Linked DNA regions of Homo sapiens: region 1 is linked to region 2. Evidence: promoter capture Hi-C in 16 types of primary human blood cells and fetal thymus (Javierre and others, 2016). All regions are on one chromosome and are shown on one strand. Each heading gives the region's core, a stretch centred on a gene start or on the middle of the fragment in contact. The rest is flanking DNA. Distances are from core to core; before and after follow the strand shown.

What was found. The method cuts DNA at HindIII sites, captures the fragments that hold promoters and counts their contacts. A CHiCAGO score of 5 or more calls a contact.
Region 1: a fragment that was not itself captured here is called in contact with the fragment with the promoter of LIG4 in region 2 in 7 of 17 cell types (M0 macrophages, M2 macrophages, M1 macrophages and 4 more); the score reaches 17.8 in M0 macrophages.

What each region holds. Positions count from the first base shown.
Region 1 is chr13:108,908,757-108,915,273 of GRCh38, reverse strand. It overlaps MYO16 (myosin XVI), which reads right to left. Exons shown (of 35, transcript NM_001198950.3): 16 at 5,124-5,271. Among named protein-coding and RNA genes, the nearest start is that of MYO16-AS2, 190 kb to the left of the region's middle. The HindIII fragment of the contact is 2,770 bases long and covers 2,798-5,567 here.
Region 2 is chr13:108,210,054-108,216,880 of GRCh38, reverse strand. LIG4 (DNA ligase 4) reads left to right here and starts at 1,345. Exons shown (of 3, transcript NM_206937.2): 1 at 1,345-1,397; 2 at 2,271-2,343; 3 at 5,585-6,827. The coding sequence starts at 5,613. RefSeq lists a silencer at 1,143-1,282 and an enhancer at 1,126-1,420. The HindIII fragment of the contact is 5,824 bases long and covers 1-2,880 here.

The DNA.
Region 1 (6,517 bases), core at 2,933-5,432, 700 kb before region 2:
TAGAAACCTACAGACTTTTTTTCTTGTTGTTTTAATAATCTGTGGAGGAAGATGCTTATGCAAAGTGTTATAAATACTGTTTTCATGCAGCTAAGCCTTAGGAGGTGATGTCTATATCTGTATCACTTATATTCTAAAGTTAGGCACACGTCCTATCTGCTGTTTCTAGATATCATTCCTATGTTACAAACAGGAAAGTAGTTTTACATTCATTTTATGCTGAAATAAACCTCCATAAATTTTCATGTGATACTTTCAACATTTTTAGTTCTAAAAACAGAGTCAAAGCTAAACAGCACTTTTGTAGCTTTAATGATAAAACCAAATTACAGGTCGGGCGCAGTGGTTCATGCTTGTGATCCCAGCACTTTGGGAGGCTGAAGCAGGTGGATCACTTGAGGTCAGGAGTTCAAGACCAGCCTGGCCAACATGGTGAAACCCCGTCCCTACTAAAAATACAAAAATCAGCCAGATGGGGTGTCATGTACCTGTAATCCCAGCTATTCAGGAGGCCGATACAGGAGAATCGCTTGAGCCAGGGAGGCAGAGGTTGCAGTGAGCCAAGATAGCACCACTGCACTCCAGCCTGGGCGACAGAGCAAATAAAAGAAAAAAAAGGGAATTACAGCAATGTTTTCTTCTCTCTGGAGGTCTAATCACATAAGATACGATAAGTATTGAATATGCCTTTAGCTCACAGTTACTGATGCATGTATATTTTATTTTGATTCATGTATCTAGTGAGTTGCTATGAAGGAAGAAGAGAGAGAATGAATTTGAAGGAAGAAGGCTTGTAAGTTTTGTAGTGTTTGCTTTAGGACTTAGTGTACTTCATCCAAATTCCACTAAAAGCTACACTGTGGGATAAGTGAGTGAGCAAAGAGATGCTGTGTTCATGTGGTCACATGTAGGCTGGTTTATTCTACATCATAGGAATAGCAATATTATTTTGAAAAACATCAGACAAGAAGATGTGACAATAATAATGCCATTCTTAATAATAGTAGATATACTACATATAATATAGTAAATATAATACATATATTAACAATAGTAGATACAGTAATTATTAACAATAGTAGATATAATTATCTACTTAATAATAGTAGATATACTACATATAATATAGTATATATAATACATATATTAACAATAGTAAATACACTAATTATTAACAATAGTAGATATAATTATCTACTTAATAATAGTAGATATACTACATATATGTAGAATCAGGCAGCCCCCAGAATCACAGCAGATTCAGAGAGACTCCAGGGATGCCTCGTGGTCAGAACAAATTTATAGACAAAAAAAGGGAAGTGCCATAAAGAAATCGGCAGTGAGGTATAGAAACAGCTGGATTGGTTACAGGTTGGTGTTTGCTCTATTTGAACAACTGAACACTCAGCAGTCTATCAGTGGTTGAAGTATGGCCGCTGGGATTGGCCAAGACTCAGCTATTGTTACAGGCACATACACCTAAGTTGGGTTTTCAGTCTTGTCTGCCTATTAAGCTAGGTTATAGTTCGTCCACAAGGACTCAAATACAGAAGCACGGAGTCCTCCTCCAGCCATATTTAGTTTGCTTTAACATATGGTATTGAGCATTTTACAAATAGCAATATCCTTTACCTATGGGTACCAATTTTAAGGAAGGGATTCAGAAGACCATCAGTTTGTGAAAGGTTAGAAAGCTCGCAAATTCAGGTTTACATTTCTAATTGTGAACAAGCCAAACAGTTTCCAAAACTATGGAACTTAATACTCATAATTACCAAATAAAGATTAGATACCAACCTAAATTTAAACATTAAACAAATATGAACTTCTCAAACCCAACCGACATTGCAAAAGTGAGAAGATCCACCAACATTATAAATGTGAGAAGACCTGTATAACATAAACAACAAAAAATACTGTATACATACTATGTTATAACTTGAAAAACAGCTTGCTTTACCGTTAAAGTTTTCCTGTGAAATTGTCATTGTACAAATGCTCCAACTGATGTATTCATGAATCTGGAGGGTGGTGGGTGGTGAATATTTTCATGGAAAATGTTGTTTTGCACCCATTAGATACTTATGATACATTTCAATAAAATAACTGCTTTGTCCAAGAGAACTGAATTATTCACGATCTTCCTAAGTTCTTTCCTGTTGGAACTCCTCATAAAGTCACCCCTGACTGTTTGACTTTCTAAATAGCCTAAGTGACTCCAAACTCTTTTTTGCAAAGAGAAATGAATGTCAGAATTGAAGCTCAATACAGAAATCCTTGTTTTCTCCCACACACTCACACACTTCAACAGACTCATCCAAACCACAGATCAAGAAGTTAAATTGTTTATTTAAATTATAGGTTACATTATTCCTTTTTCTTCATCAGTGGCCATACGTCTGCAATGCCAAGCACATACCCACGTGCACACACACAGACACACACACATAGACACAGATGCACTCTAAGCTACGTATCTGCTTGAGGCTTTGAGCTGTTGCTCGTTAGAAGGATTGGGAGCAGAGAAACCCAAAACTCTTCTCTTCCTCACAGGCTATCTCTCAACATGCAATCCCCAGAATCCAGTTAGGTGCTTCCTCCCAGGGTCAACATGTTCAATTAGCGATGTTCAAGGTAGAAAATCACAAAGTTAATCTCAGGTGGTGGGTTTTGTCAATACTGCTGCTGCATAAAAGGTATTCACTTGAGTACAAGCTTCTTCATGTCTCTGGCTTTGATTTCCTCCTTTATAATATAAAGGGATTTGATTTAAAATATTTCTAATGTCCTAGAAGCTTGGAATTTTTATATTTCTATCACTTTTGCCTGGGTTACCATACTTTAATATTAGCTTTTTCTTCTAAACTTCTATTGTATTTTGGGAACAGAAAACCCTAAAACAGTCTTTCTTTGTAAATAAAACACAATTTTGATAAGGCCTTTTACACTTCCTGACTACTTTCTACCTACACAACATGACAAACCATATCCATAGCCCTGGATGTCTTCACTGAAATTTAATGATAATAATTAGTAATGTGATTGTAAATTAGGCCAATTCATTCTCTTCCTCTGAGCCCACCTGCACTATCACTCACCCCTCACAGCAGTGGCGGGACAGAGGTTGTCCTGTAATTTCTCCAAGCAGTTCTAGGAGTTCAGCCTCACATTGGCTCCATCACACTGGAAAGTCCCTCCTCTCTCCAGTACCCTGCTGACACTCCTGCATCTCCACCTTGCTGTCTTAAAACCAGCAGGACTGGTTCTCTGGCCACTCTTCTCCTCCCCAGCACCCTGGTTCCCTCCTAGCCTTGTCACGAGGTAAATGGCACAATAACACCATGTGTTGCTCAGGCCACAGCCACAGGAATCATTCTTGATCTCTTTACCTCATATCCCTTGTTCAGTGCATCCTTCAATCCTGACCTTCCTACCTTCAGAGCATAACCCATGTTTTCCCATTCCTCATCGCCTGCACCACCATTACCATGAGTGCTAACACCACCTCCCCACTACCATACCAGGAATTTAGCTCTCTGGTTCCAGCTGGGAATACCATAGGGACATCTCCACAGATGCAAATCACCTTCGAAGTGAAAACCAATTCTCTTGCATACTCAAAACCCCCAATCACTTCCAGACAACTCTGAAGGAAATCTAAATTTCTGACCATGGCTGTTCTTTTCATGTTGTCTCTATTACCCTCCCTCTTTCCCATACAACTCTAATCTGAGATCCTGGCCTTCATGTTGTCCCTCAAACATTGAGTATGTTTCCTCAGGCCCCTTGTACACTTCCATCTCCCTTGGACACCACATCAGATCTGTGAACGGCCCTCTCTGGTGTCTCTACCACAGGTACTACCTGGTAGGAGGCTCTCGATTAACGTATCTAAAAGCAGGACACCCACCTGCTCCTCTGTTCCCCAACCCTCATTTATTTTTCATCATATCACCTCAACTATTACCAACCTGTTTATTAATATCTCCCCAACCAGAATATAATGGCTTCAGATGGGGAAATAGCACAGCAAAGCAGAGAGAACTGGAGATATTTTTTTGCAGGCTTAAAGCAGCCTATGTGTGTACTCAAGAGGAGGGCTTGCTGGGGAAGTTGCCCCCCGCCAATTTGTTCTCTCAATAAGCACTTGGCCTTAACCACTGTCTTGACTACATGAAGGTGAGTGAAGCAACCCTTCTCTCTCTCTGTGTGTGTGTGTGTGTGTGTGTGTGTGTGTGTTTTCTCCTATAGCATCCTTTTTCTCACAAAAGTTCTCCTAAAATTGTGCAAACTCACACTGTTCCCCTAGATCTAATAATAAACACCCAATAAGCCATAAATCAGGTATCAGCAGGTATCTGAAGTCAATCCACATGTCCTCAGAGTCTAGTTCCCACCACCGCCCCCCACCGCCACTGAATTGAGTTTGGATCAGAATCCAATTCTCTCTTGTGCTCTTTTCCCACCAACTTCTCTTCAGAACAGGATTCATTTCCCATATTGTTTCTTGTTCTCATCCTAATGCAAATCTGGACCCATCCCTGTGGCAGAGACACACTAAACCAGGCAGTTAGCAGAAGTGCAAACATTGAGAATACATTCTTCACTCACTGTCTATACAGCCTGTCACTCCCATCATTCTCCTATGACCAAGGCATCCTAATTTTAACACAAGTGCTTTCTGCCTCCATTAAAGGAAATCAGCCCCTGAGGTTATGTGTGCTGTGCATCTTAATCCATGATGTACCTTCATCCAACACCAATGAATAATCATACTTACTCAAATAACATTGCCCATTATCTCAAAACAGGGCCATGGATTAGGAGTGCATAACTCATGTTATAGCCAAAATACTTAAAAGGAGTATAGGAGTTTATATCTGCACAAGTTTTTTCTGATCTGAAAACTAGTAAAATATAAGTTTGTTCACACACATACAACTTCACCCATTCAAGAAACAGTGGGAACCTTGTTATGTGGATGGTTTCAACCTAACAGTATCCAACAGTTATCTTTTACTCACCATTTTGTCTCTGAAAAGTAAGAAGATAATTTAAGACTACCAAATTGCAATCACAATTTGAAGGCATAGCTTTTAGATACAAAATACTTAGTCACTCACCGGTGTGCACATAAATTATTAAGATGAAGTCCATATTTTTCTTCAGCAGATAACCCATCCATCAACAAGTAGAAAATGAGAAAATTGCTCTGGCCAAGAGGTTGTGAAACAAGTCTGGATTTCTCTAGCAAATATGTATAAATTCTGGCTGGTTGGGAAAAGAAAAGTGATTCTGTTAAATGGCAGTATTCATTTCATTTCCATAAATTAACACATATTAATTAATTACAAGAGATACAAGGACTGTTGAGTTCTCCCTTTCCCATCTATTTACATTTTATTTTATTGTCTTTTTGCATTAGCTAGGACTTTCAATACGATGCTGAAAAGACATGGTTTAAGGGGACATCCTTCCTTGTCCCATATCCAACAAAGAACTTGGTGCACAAATGTAATTTGAAACAAGATTTGCTCTTGTCTGTAACAAAGGCTTTGAAATAAGCTTTGGAATTTTCCTCATTAATATCCCACTGTTTGAGAGTCCCGGCCATGTTGGTATGATGGATATTAACTTACACTGTTCAAAAAGTGCCCCACTAAAGGCACTGATAAGCATTCCCAGCAACTAGATCAGAATTATATATGGCTGCACTATGAAGGCCCAGGGAGACAGACCATGGTCCCTCACTGCCAGAAACACTGGAGGAAACCCACTGCAGCAAAGGAAAATGCAATTTGAATTCACACAGATATAGTTTAATACACATAATGTATTTGAGGATGAGGTAGATGAGGTGTCTATTAAGTAACACATGTCCAGTGTGAACAGTGTGTAGTCATCTTCTTTTATTCTCACCACACATGTGCGGTAATAGGACTACTAGCTGATGTTTATTTAGTCCTCTGTTTTCAAAACTTTACAAAATAAAATAAAATATAACCCAATGCATAAATACAAGGTGTTGAAATTTATTTGATAGTAGTTGATCAACAACGCCAAAAAGATGCAATATGGTAATCACAGCCTCAATTTTGCTTTACATATGAAGATCAGCAATTCAGAAGCTAGCGTTGGTCAAAATTATGACTGTATGTTTGGCATGCTGAAAATTTCATTGTTTCTGGAGCATTTGAAATATTAATATAGGTTTATTTTTATCATTATGAATAATCAGATTATGTATTTCAATTATATTTTTATTTATTTATTTATTTATTTATTTTATTTTATTTTTTTTGAGACACAGTCTCACTCTATTGCCCAGGCTGGAGTGCAGTGGCACGATCTTGGCTCACTGTAACCTCTGCCTCTCCGGTTCAAGTGATTCTCCTGCCTCAGCCTCCTCAGTAGCTGGGACCACAGGTGTGTGTCACCACACCAGCTAATTTTTGTATTTTTAGTAGAGACAGGCTTTTGCCATATTGGCCAGGCTGGTATTGAACTCCTAACCTCA
Region 2 (6,827 bases), core at 96-2,595:
AAATAACATGATGAAATGGAGACTGGGCTTTGAATCAATTTGGAGTTTGCCTGGTTTCATAATTCATGGTTCTTCTCATGTAACTAATACAAAGTCCAGCTTCTGACATTGTAGGAGCTCAGTAGAGGTTGAACAAGCTACAAATGTACACGGATAGGTACCCTCTCCTAAGATGGGCAAGTGGAGGCTCCTCTACCTTAACACTATTCATTTTTCCTCCAAAATAAATTGATAACTAAATTGAAGAGCAGATACTCACAAAACAATATCATGAGACTTTACAACATCACAGATGATTTTAGATATTCAGGCATATTAGGTCAATTAGACATACGAAGTAAATAACTGAATGTTCTTGGGCTAGACGGAACCTCCGCTACAAACTAGCACTGAATGAAATGTGTCAGTTTTGAAAAAGGAGGTTTTTATACATTACACAACCTCTAAGGGCACTTAACAGCTCTAATATGTTTTATCAGGGCCCACTGCAGCAAAATTTATTTTATTGTAAAGCAATATTTTATGCTAAAATAAAATAGTTCTAAAAGTTGTTTCCACCCCTCTTTATGAATAACTTCTCACTTCTCCATGGCGAAAGAGGACTGACCACAGCAAAAATTCGGTGGAAACCAACAGCTCCTGGAACACAAAAACTGGGGTTGTTTATAATCTCTCCACCCTGAATATCTAGCACCATTACTATATAATAATAGGTGCTCAATAAAGGTTTGTTAAATAACTTTATTTTTAAACCTTAAACAGATACTAGAAGAGTCCATAGTTGATTTCTGGTCATGCAACGGTTTATTTCTATATTGTAAGTTATGTATTGTTATGTATTATTTCTGTATTAAGAGAACTGAGACCACAGTAGCAAACATCATTTAAAAAAAAAAACAGCTCTATATAGTTTGCAAAAGCCTATTTTTTAAAAGTTTAAATGAAACAACCAACGTTTTGAGTTGGGAGGATGTCCTGTTCTCTCTTGGGAGTTTTCACAACCAGCGAAATCAGTATAGTTACCACTGTTTTACGTACAGAGAACAAGAATTAGAGGCTATCACTAGCCAGAGCACAAAGTGATCTTAGGTCTCCCTCGAGACAAAATCCACTGGCGTGTGGATCAACTGCTTGCAGAGAGCATCTGCTGCCGAGGCCAATAGGAGCCGTGTGTACTCAAGACCCTAACCAGGATCCTGCAGGTCCCGCCTCCGCAGCCCCACGGGGCTGCCGGCCCCCCCACCTCCCATCGCGAGCCTGGCTGCGCCGGCGTGCTTGAGCCCGGTGACTGCAAGGCCCCGGGTCTCCCCTGCGCCTGCGCGGCGAGCAGCTGGCGGAACCGGCATCTTCTGGCGCCAGCTTCCGGCTTAGCGGCTGAGCTTCAGGCTTGACGTCAGGTGGGAAGGGTGTGGGGTGGCAGGTGGGGGCGGTTGGGAGGTTGGGGGGGGTTGGGGTGGGGGGGGTGGGGGGTGGCAGATTGACGGTGTGGGGGGAGTCAAGTGGAAGGTGTGGTCCAGCAGGCGGCGAGAAGTCTGTGGGGCAACAGACCGGGGGAAGGTCTGTGGGGCGTCAGGCGGGGTATCTGTGGGACGTCAGGTTGGGGTCTGTAGGGCGTCACGTTGGGGGTCTGTGGGGCGTCAGAGGGGGGAATCTGTGGGGCGGCAGGTGGGGGGTGTTCGGGGCGGGGTTTGGGGTGTGTGTGGCGGCAGGAGGCGGGGGAGGTCTGTGGGGCGTCAGGTTAGGGTCTGTGAGGTGTCAGGCGGGGTTTACGTGGGGTGGCAGGTGTGGGGTGTGTGGAGAGTCAAGTGGGGGGTGTGGGGCGTCAGATTGGGGGTCTGGGGGATCAGATGGGTGGTGTCTGGGACGTCAGGCGGGGGTCGGGGGGTCGTCAGGCGGGGGATGTGTGGGGAGTCAAGTAGGGGAAGTGGGGCGTCAGATTGGGGGTCTGGGGGATCCGGTCGTGGGGGTGTCTGGGACGTCAGGCGGGGGGCCTGAGGGGCGTCAGGTGGGGGGGTCTGGGAGGCGTCAGGCGGGGGTCGGTCTATGGGGGCAGCAAGCAGGGTGTTTGTGCAGCGGCAGGTGATGGGAGTTGCCGAGTCCACAGCGCTGTAGACTGCGCCGCATTAGAAGCCTGGCCTCCTGATGCTGTGCTCTTCATCTAGACCCAAGCCCCAGGTCGTGGGACGATTTCTCCCGTTTTTGACTCCCTGGAACTGTATTGCCTGCTTTACCTGCGTACATGTTGATTCTTTCTCATGGCAACCCCGCAGGAAACCATCAAGATCTCATTTTACAGCTGGGATTCTCTGGTTCACAGAGGTAACGGAGCTTGCCCGAGGCCAGGTATTCACTGGGAATCCGTGAAGGGTTGGGGGAGAGTAGGGGGAACGGGCAGAGGAATGATGTAGACTCCTTAGGGATTTTCCATTTTCCGAGAGGGTACAGGGGGCATTGGAGCGGGAGAGACTTTAGGCTTGGAGGGAATTACTTTATTTCTCTTCTTACACTTGGTCTTTCATTAACTTTTGGGATCCCAAAGCCCTTCTAGCGTCTTTGTCTGCTCATTTCTTTTTGCTGAGATTGTCCCAAATTGTCACTAAGTGCTGTGGAAGATAGGCAGCTGTAAACCCTTTGTTTCCTAGGGAAACACAGCTTGTCAAGGGTTGCATGAAGGATACTTCAGTTGCATTCGTCACTTACTCCTTTTTTTCCTCTCTCTTTTTTAAGTGCAATAGCATAGCACTTAATCACCTTCCATAGTCACTGAATAAAACCTGCCGGTTTATTTTCATGTGTCACTTCAGGACAATTTAGTCAGAACTGAATGAATGATGAATCGTTATTGTGTACTAATTGCTTGCATTCATTCTCCTGAAAGCTTTGCTTATTGTTAAAGAGTGAAGCTTCTTCCCACCTTTTTATCTCGTTAATATTTTGCAATATTTATATTTTAAATGTTGCTTGGATCAGCAAGCATTATAGTATTAAAATTATCAAGACTTACTACTTTTTAAAGCACATTTTGTAGATTATCTGATTTTTATCTTCATTCTAATTTCTACATAGTTTTTAACCCCATTTTATACTTTAGGAAACTGAAGCTTAGAGAAATTAAGTAATTGCCCAGTATCACACAGCTGTTAAATGTTACCATCCACATTTGAACTCAGATTTATTAGAGTCTAAAACCTGAGCCCTAACCAGGAACCTCCTCATTTGTCTTACTGCAAATGGAATGAATCAGCTAAAATCCTCAGAATCCAAAAAATAAAATTAGCATGTAAAAATGAATGGAAGTCCTAATCTTTGACTTTTTATGCCGTTGTAATGAGCAAAAATACTTACGACTAGTTTATGGCAATTTTGGAATCCTTGTTATAGGCGTAGCCATTTTAGGATACATGTGTATCCACACCATTACCTACATTTTGTCATTATAAAGTAATTTAAGTCCTTGCCTGGGATTTGTTGAGCGAAACTTTAACTTTGAGACCATGTAGAATCTATAGATATATCTGTAGAAACTATATACCAATATTTGAATATTAAAGAAATATTAGTTAACCTACTTTATTTTACATAGTTTATATAGAAATTGTAGATATAGCATTGTGTACCCTGTTTACTCCCTTGAGGGAGCAAATTTTGGGAGATAGGGCAGTGAACATACATAACCAGGTGTTACAGTCAGTTATGCAAACCAGATTCAGAGAGAGGAAACAACAGTATATTCAAAGATAAAAGTTTCAGGAAAGTGGTCTGTCATGCGTTTATCCCTCGATCTAACCCACTCAGTAGAAGCTGGGTTTCCTTTGTCAGAAATTAGACTGAGAAGTGCACCTTTTTTCTCTATAGGCCACCAAATGGCTGTTGTAAACCATTGCCAGGGCAGTCAGAGCTACTGAATATTTTTAACCAAACTGAATCTCACCCACTGTGTGTCTGCGTGCGTGTGTGAGTGTGTGGTATGTAACCAGACCATAGCTTTCCCTAGTGTGCTTATCCAGGAGTCAACTCTAGGTGTTCAGTAATTCATTCAGCAAACCTCCTACATGTCTGCCACTAGAGCACAAATTACAGCACAATTCCTGGCCTCTAGATACTGACAGTATAGTAAATGTAGTATTGTAATTAGCCATTTGATTTATTTTACTGGATACTAGATAATGTAGCCTTGTGCATGTGTGTGTTGCTCATTTGTTTGCGAATTGGAAGATGGGGAGTCACATATTTTCTGCACTGTAATAGATCTCCCCACTCCCAGCAAAACTTCTCCAACTCCACTGCCTGGGATACATGGTGGTGTGCCAGGAGGGGTCTGAAACCACAGGATAAAACATAGTTTCTATTCATGGACCATACATTTTACTTGAAATCTTTTTTTGGAAAAGTTATTTAACATTACATAGTTTAAACCATATTAAAATTACTCTAATATATTTATCTTCCAGTAGAACTTGTATGAATATTTAAAACTAAAGAAATTTACACTTGTGAAATTTTAGGAAATATTCTTGCCCTAGCTTAGCAAGGTACCCATTATTTCTTCTCTGACTTTAGCAGATACTTTAGGGAAAAGCTCTCCCCTCAGGACATTTTACGTTTGTTTTATTTTGTTAAAGCACTTGGCATTTTATTATACTCAGTTTCCACTACACTCCCCCCCTTTTTTTCTTTTCTTTTTTTTCTTTTTTTTTTTTTACAGAATATATTTTCTTTTAAAGCAGAAACATGCAGTATTTTCCCCTAGCACAGTGTATGTAGCACATCTCATATGTAGTCATTAAATACTCAGGGAATAACTGGCATGGAAATATGAAAAAAGCAGCATACTAATAAATTTATACTTATAAGACAGTAAGTAACTATGGTAAAATAGATAAAGTGAGGATTTTATGGGTAGGGCATTTTGAGTTGGAATCGAATGCTGGTGTGATTTGGCATAGCTAGCAGTGAAGAAGTGAAAGGAAACATAGACGTAGGCTTTGTTTGGCTGGAAGAAGAGGGTACCTGTTTTTTCCTTTGTTTTGTTTTTTGGTCAAGGGCCCTGCCTATGATTAGGATTTCTAGGAAGTCAAATTTCAGTTCAGCAAATGAGTGATTTGTTAAAAATATCTGTTCGAAGATCAAGTTCATTTCTGGTGCTATGTGGTAGTCTGACAGGGAAAGAAGAGACATACATGAAAGGCCTTCCCTCAGAAGCTCAGAAGTGAAGTGAATTAAGCCTGATGAGTTTTTTTGTCACCATTATTAGCAATATTTGTTTGTATTATGTGCTAAATAATTAATACATAGAATAACTGGAATTTAAAGAGAAAATTAAAATGATTTCTGTATTATAAATACAGGAAATACAGCTATATAGCTGATGATACTTTTCATAATAACTTCAAATTAGGGTTGGAGCAAAACAGTTATTAAATGTAGAGGTTGAAAAGATACATCATTTAGAGCATTGATCTTTTTTTTAGTAAACATTAATAAACATTTATTATGATCTCAGTGATCTTTGTAAGATCTTTACATTAAATATTTAGTTGAATCTTATCTTTTACTTAAAGTTATTCTCTTTTTGCTTTACTAGTTAAACGAGAAGATTCATCACCGCTTTGATGGCTGCCTCACAAACTTCACAAACTGTTGCATCTCACGTTCCTTTTGCAGATTTGTGTTCAACTTTAGAACGAATACAGAAAAGTAAAGGACGTGCAGAAAAAATCAGACACTTCAGGGAATTTTTAGATTCTTGGAGAAAATTTCATGATGCTCTTCATAAGAACCACAAAGATGTCACAGACTCTTTTTATCCAGCAATGAGACTAATTCTTCCTCAGCTAGAAAGAGAGAGAATGGCCTATGGAATTAAAGAAACTATGCTTGCTAAGCTTTATATTGAGTTGCTTAATTTACCTAGAGATGGAAAAGATGCCCTCAAACTTTTAAACTACAGAACACCCACTGGAACTCATGGAGATGCTGGAGACTTTGCAATGATTGCATATTTTGTGTTGAAGCCAAGATGTTTACAGAAAGGAAGTTTAACCATACAGCAAGTAAACGACCTTTTAGACTCAATTGCCAGCAATAATTCTGCTAAAAGAAAAGACCTAATAAAAAAGAGCCTTCTTCAACTTATAACTCAGAGTTCAGCACTTGAGCAAAAGTGGCTTATACGGATGATCATAAAGGATTTAAAGCTTGGTGTTAGTCAGCAAACTATCTTTTCTGTTTTTCATAATGATGCTGCTGAGTTGCATAATGTCACTACAGATCTGGAAAAAGTCTGTAGGCAACTGCATGATCCTTCTGTAGGACTCAGTGATATTTCTATCACTTTATTTTCTGCATTTAAACCAATGCTAGCTGCTATTGCAGATATTGAGCACATTGAGAAGGATATGAAACATCAGAGTTTCTACATAGAAACCAAGCTAGATGGTGAACGTATGCAAATGCACAAAGATGGAGATGTATATAAATACTTCTCTCGAAATGGATATAACTACACTGATCAGTTTGGTGCTTCTCCTACTGAAGGTTCTCTTACCCCATTCATTCATAATGCATTCAAAGCAGATATACAAATCTGTATTCTTGATGGTGAGATGATGGCCTATAATCCTAATACACAAACTTTCATGCAAAAGGGAACTAAGTTTGATATTAAAAGAATGGTAGAGGATTCTGATCTGCAAACTTGTTATTGTGTTTTTGATGTATTGATGGTTAATAATAAAAAGCTAGGGCATGAGACTCTGAGAAAGAGGTATGAGATTCTTAGTAGTATTTTTACACCAATTCCAGGTAGAATAGAAATAGTGCAGAAA